Linked DNA regions of Homo sapiens: region 1 is linked to region 2. The links are contacts of gene promoters, found by promoter capture Hi-C in blood cells and fetal thymus (Javierre and others, 2016). All regions are on one chromosome and are shown on one strand. The core of a region is centred on a gene start or on the middle of the fragment in contact, and the rest is flanking DNA. Distances in the headings are between cores, read along the strand shown. Region 1 overlaps OSMR-DT (OSMR divergent transcript). Region 2 holds the start of EGFLAM (EGF like, fibronectin type III and laminin G domains).

Region 1 (2,700 bases), core at 145-2,644, 580 kb after region 2:
TGCAGGGAGTGCTACTTTCAGCCATTGCTGAGTAGCTCTGTTTAATTGACTGCCCCTCCCCAACATATAACAATATAAAACACTAGAAAAATATTGTTAAAAATTAAAAACAATTATCGGCAGTGGAGAGTGACCAACACCAGGCAGATTGTGGAGGAAAGTCAACACTTGGCAGAGGAAAGGCATGGAGCAACTTTCCCAAATTTTATGACCCTCAGCCCAAGACTAGTGCATGTCTGTGCAATGTGAGGTAGCTAAAACTCTGTTAGAAAATATGCAATATTTCTAGTTTGAAGAACCAGGGGTCAGGGTTCACAGCAACAACATTATTTGGAAAGTGAGGCGGGAAAACATAAAGGAGGGAGCAAGAGAGGAAGAAGCCCAAATTCTGTATTTAAAATAAATACCAATTATTGGATAATCTCTGAACCATGCTTGTGCAAGGCAAACTCAAAGCAGCCTGGTCAACATTAAAAAGTGAATTCAGATTTGAGCTTCTACTTACTGTAAGCAATATCAGGTTTGCAGTTTGAGTTTAACCACACTGCTTGCCATTTTAAAAGATAATCAGTGTCATTGGAGGAATAGAACAGAATCTTCATCACATAATATTTATAACGCACAGGTTGCACTCCAAAATTATTTGACAATCCAAAAATAGGTAAATAAAAAAAACAGGAAAATGTAATCCATTCTTATAAAAGAAAAAAATCAGTGGAGATTGACTAAAAGATGATGTAAATATTGGAATAATGAAGCAATGTTTTAAAAGCAGCAACTATAATAACTATGCTCAATGAAGCAAAGGAAAATATGTTCATAATAATAAAAAGAATAGGGACAACCAGTATAGAAATAGACAATATATTTTAAAAGAACAGATTGAAATTCTAGAACTGAAATATACCATATATATGACACAAAATTTACTAGATGGATATAATAGCCCAACGAATATAACACAAAAGGAATTTGTAAGCTTAAAGATAGTTCAATAGAAATTATTGAATCTGAAGAGCACAGAAAAAAAGTTGAAAAACAACAGAGGCTCATGGGCATTTAGGACTATATTAAGGGGTCTGACATACTTGTAGTCGGAATTTCAAAAAGATAAGAAAGATAATGGTGCAGAAAAGGTACTAAAAAGATATACAGGCTGAAAAATTCTCCAATTTGGTAAAAGACATAAATTTATAAATTCAAGAAGCTTAGCAAATGCCAGGCAGGGTAAATAATAATTTTAAAACTTCTAAGCACATAGTTGATAAACTATTGACAATCAAAGATAATGAGAAAATATTTAAACCAGAGAAAAAATGACACATTATATTGACAGAGGAAAGAAGAATCAAATAATGGCTGACTTCTCATCAGAAGCAATGAAAGGCAGTAAAATGTAGAACAGTATCTTTAAATAGTTGAAAGAAAATAGAATTCTATCCAACAAAAATATTCCTTGAGGACGAAGTGAAATAAAGATATTTTCAAATAAAATAAGACTAATACTATGTATCTCCAATAGACTTCCAATAAAAAATATACTAAAGTAAGTTTGTTAGGCTTACAGAAATGCTACCAGAGAGAAGCTTAGATCTTTGGGAAGGATTTAAGAACATTAAAGGTAAATATGTGTATAAATATAAAAGAGTAGTTTTCCTCTTAATTTCTTTAAAATACATACTATATTGTGGGTTTTATCTTGTCTGTAGATGTAATACACTTTACAACTATAGTGTAAAGGATGGGGTGTGTGGTTAAATGGACCTATTAAGTGAAAAGGTACAATACTATTTCAAGTACACAGTGAAATTTAAGAATGTACACTGTAATCCATAGAGAAAACATTAAGACATCATGCAAAGAGAAATAAGAAAAAGACAAAGGCAAATAAAAATGAAATTTAAAAAGCGTTCAAAGGCAGATATGGTGGCTCATGCTTGTAATATCAGCTACTTGGGAGGCTGAGGCGGAAGGATCGCTTAAGGTCAGGAGTTTGAGACCAGCCTGGGCAATGGAGTGAGACCCCAACTCTAAAAAAATTAAAATGGAAATATAAAAAGATAAAAAGTATTTATATAGTCCAGAAAAAAAAGAAGAAAAAGAAGAATAAAAAAACAAAACCAGAGAGAACAAAACACAAAACCTATAGTAAAATGGTAGGCTAAACACAAGCATATCAATAACTGCCTTAAATATAAGTCTACTAAACACTCTCTATCAAATTAAAATGCAGAGATTGTCAGTCAACTTCTAAAAAAAAGTCTCAACTATATGTTTTCTGTAAGAGATTCAGTTTAAATATAAACACAACTATAGACTTATTTCGGATCAACCTTAAGCCAATAGTTTTCAAATATCCAGAAAGTTCCCATCTAATTCTCTCCAAAGTATTTCTCTCTCACTGTATTAATGTTCTAAACTTTAGCATTAACAACTGCACTCAAATTTAGTAAGTGCCATAACCACAGGCCAAGAGAATAAAAGCAGCTATCAATATTCAATATTTTCCCTAAAGTCCCTGAGGGAAAAAAAGTAAAAGATCCAGGGAGGTTCTCCTCATTGTCTGGTTTCTGATGACTTCTGGAAGAAGGTGTGAGCACAATTACAACATCTGGAAGAGGGTGGAATGTGCAAAATCCATCCATCAATCAATCAATCAATTTTCAGATAATATCTAGTTTAATCAAGGAATTCCTGTAG
Region 2 (2,700 bases), core at 122-2,621:
CAAGATTGAGCTCATTACAAACTCTCCAGCCAGGGGATATTTCATTCTTAAAAGAGGAGTAGAAATCCTGTGTGTGTGTGTTTGGGGGGCTGGGGAGGGGAGAAGAATATATCAGTCAACATTGTTTCCTCCCGCGCTCCCAAACATAGGCTAACTGTGAAGAGCCAGGACGCCCACCGAGTCCTGGCAGCGTTGCAAGGTGGGGAGGGGGCGGGCGCGGTCCTGTCGCTAGTGACTGCAGATTTCCTCTGCGGGGCACTTCCTACGGCCTTTGATCTTTCCCCAGGAACTGCCGAGGGCCGCGTTTGCCTCTAAGTTTATTCCCTCTTGGTTTATTTATTGTATCTGCTTTCTCTTCTCGCTGGTTTGGAGGTCAGAACGCCAGTATGCAACGGGACTTGTGTCCCAGGCAGGGTCTCCCCTCTCCAGGCACTACCGCGAAATCTGGCAAAAGGTACATTTTACTGAGTCCTAGGGCAGCAAATTCAGCGGCGGAGAAAGAGTCTTTCTCCATTCAGGAGACAACCCAGGAAGCCCGATCCCGGGATCAGAGGCCAGGACCCCGCCCCGGCCCCCTGCCCCAGGCCCAGCTGGGCGCCGCCCAGGGGCTTTTCTCGGTCCGCCTGGGGGCTCGAGCTCGCGTCCCTCCCTAAGACGCCAGGCTTAACTTGGAGTTTCATCTCCTCCCCAGGAGGGTCTCAAGTTGCCTTCCTCTGCCGGGAAGGGCCCCCACTCCCCCGCTCCAGGCCCTAATCTCCACCCGGCGTCCCAGTCTGAGCGGCCTGGCCTCAGCTCTCCATCTGCGAGCCTTAAATCCCATTTATCTTCTTAGCGCCTCAGACCCGGACGGTCCCGCCTCTCTTCCTCTCACCCCCACCCCACTTGCAAATCACAGACCCCCGTCTACCCCTCGCATCCCCCAAGTGCGCTGGACCAACTACAGCAACCTTTGAGGTGTTAGAAAAAGTCGCCTAGAGGGGCGCGGCAGGAGGAGGGCCCAGGTGGGGTGGAGGGGGGGCGCCCCAAGATTTCAGGGTGAGGACCGCGGAGGGTCCTGGACCCGCAGTCGCCTAACTCCTGCCCTGCGTCTCCAGTGCTTGAAGTCGGTCCCTCCCAGGTCCCCAATCTAGGTCACCAGCGGGGAAGGGCTGCGCTGGGGGTCGCTAGAGAGGGTGAGGGGCGGGCTGTCTGCTTCCGAGGTGGGCGAGGAGTGAAGGTTTCAGGGCCTGTCCCTCTCACTTCCACTCGATTGTAATTTCATCCCCGGGCCGGTCGAGCCTCCCTCCCTCCCGCGGCCAGCCCTTCCCTCCCAGTCGGCCTCCTTCGTCGCCCCCGCCCCCGCGAAAAGCCCTGCAGCTTGCAGCCGGCTTCACTCGCGCACGCCGACCTCCCGGCTGCAGTCCTACCTCTTGGAACTACCCGTGTTTCCGGGCCCAGCCCTCGCAGCCCCCCACCTCCTCGCCCCGGCCCGGGGATCCGTTGGGGCCGCGTCCCCCACGCGCCCCCGGAGACGCCCTTTCCGTGTGCGCCCGGGACTTGGTGAAACTTTGCAGGCGCCGGCTGCGAAATGGATTTAATCCGAGGCGTCTTGCTCCGGCTCCTGCTCCTGGCTTCCAGCCTCGGACCCGGCGCGGTGTCGCTCCGAGCGGCCATCCGAAAACCAGGTAATGCGCTCCTCCGCCCAGAGCCACCACGCCCCGAGCGCCCCTGCTGGGCTCCGGGGCGAGGACACAGAGCGGGCAGCGCACCGCCTCCCTCTCCCCGACCAACGTCTGCTTAACTCGCTTCAGCTCTGCCAGGAGCTGAGAAAAGACGCAAACCTCGCCCTCCCCCGAGCCCGGGCGGCGCTAGGGATATTTATTTATTAAAAGAATGATCAATTTTCCAGACATAGTAGATAGAGGTGGTGGTCCCCGTGTTTGACCGCAGAGAGCTGACAGTTGGGACAGCGATCGTGCTGTCTCAATTACAGAGGATGGCAACCATGCAGAGGAGTCAAACCAGCCCCTCCTGCGTCTCCAAACATTTTACTCAATTCATATTGTCCAGAGCCCAGCCATTTCCTGTTAAGTGTCTGAAGGGTTGCCTGGAGCCCCCTCTGCCCATCTCGGGTCCTGCCCACGCGTTGTGCAGGGATGTGGACTCTGCTCTTAGCATCCTCTTCCACTCTGGGGCCATTTGTTCAGAAGGAAGCACCCAGTGGGTTAATTTTACCGTGTTTTGAACTCCTGTCTTTGCTTTGGCATTTAAACAAAGAAATGTACGTTGTAACCTGTTATAAGGGACTGGGAATTGGGGGAGAACTTGAAACCATAATAACGTGTGTTTCCTCTAGCTGCATATAGGTAAAAAGTCTTCGTTTATTTTGGTCTACTTTGATTTGGCCTATGCTGTGAGATTATTCAAAGTAGAACATTCTGAACAATGAAGTTCTAAACATTGTTTCCCAAATAACGATTTTTATTACTTTTTGCTGGGACCATATTTAGAATTCTGAAAAATCTGTTTTGTCTTAACTTACTTTGTAAGGGAGGTTGTCTTATGGGATTAATTATATCTTATGAACAATGGAAAACAATATTACTTTTATTTGAATGCAGTCTGCAAAACCTCACAGAAAGTGCAGTTTGTCTTCACAAACGTTTCTGTAAGAAAGAGGCAAAGCTAGGAAAATTTATCAGAGGGCAGAGAAAATCGTCT

The links. Contacts are between HindIII fragments. The CHiCAGO score rates a contact against its expected background, and 5 or more counts as called.
Region 1: a contact is called between a fragment that was not itself captured here and the fragment with the promoter of EGFLAM in region 2, in 1 of 17 cell types (M1 macrophages). The highest score is 5.3, in M1 macrophages.

Annotation. Positions count from the first base shown.
Region 1 is chr5:38,838,148-38,840,847 of GRCh38, forward strand. All of the region lies in intron 1 of OSMR-DT (OSMR divergent transcript), which reads right to left. Among named protein-coding and RNA genes, the nearest start is that of OSMR-DT, 6.3 kb to the right of the region's middle. The HindIII fragment of the contact is 379 bases long and covers 1,206-1,584 here.
Region 2 is chr5:38,257,188-38,259,887 of GRCh38, forward strand. It overlaps EGFLAM (EGF like, fibronectin type III and laminin G domains), which reads left to right and starts at 1,372. Exons shown (of 22, transcript NM_152403.4): 1 at 1,372-1,664. The coding sequence starts at 1,568. LOC124900966 (a long non-coding RNA gene) reads right to left here and starts at 1,479. Exons shown (of 2, transcript XR_007058739.1): 1 at 1,407-1,479; 2 at 1-444. RefSeq lists an enhancer at 2-503. The HindIII fragment of the contact is 7,534 bases long and covers 1-2,700 here.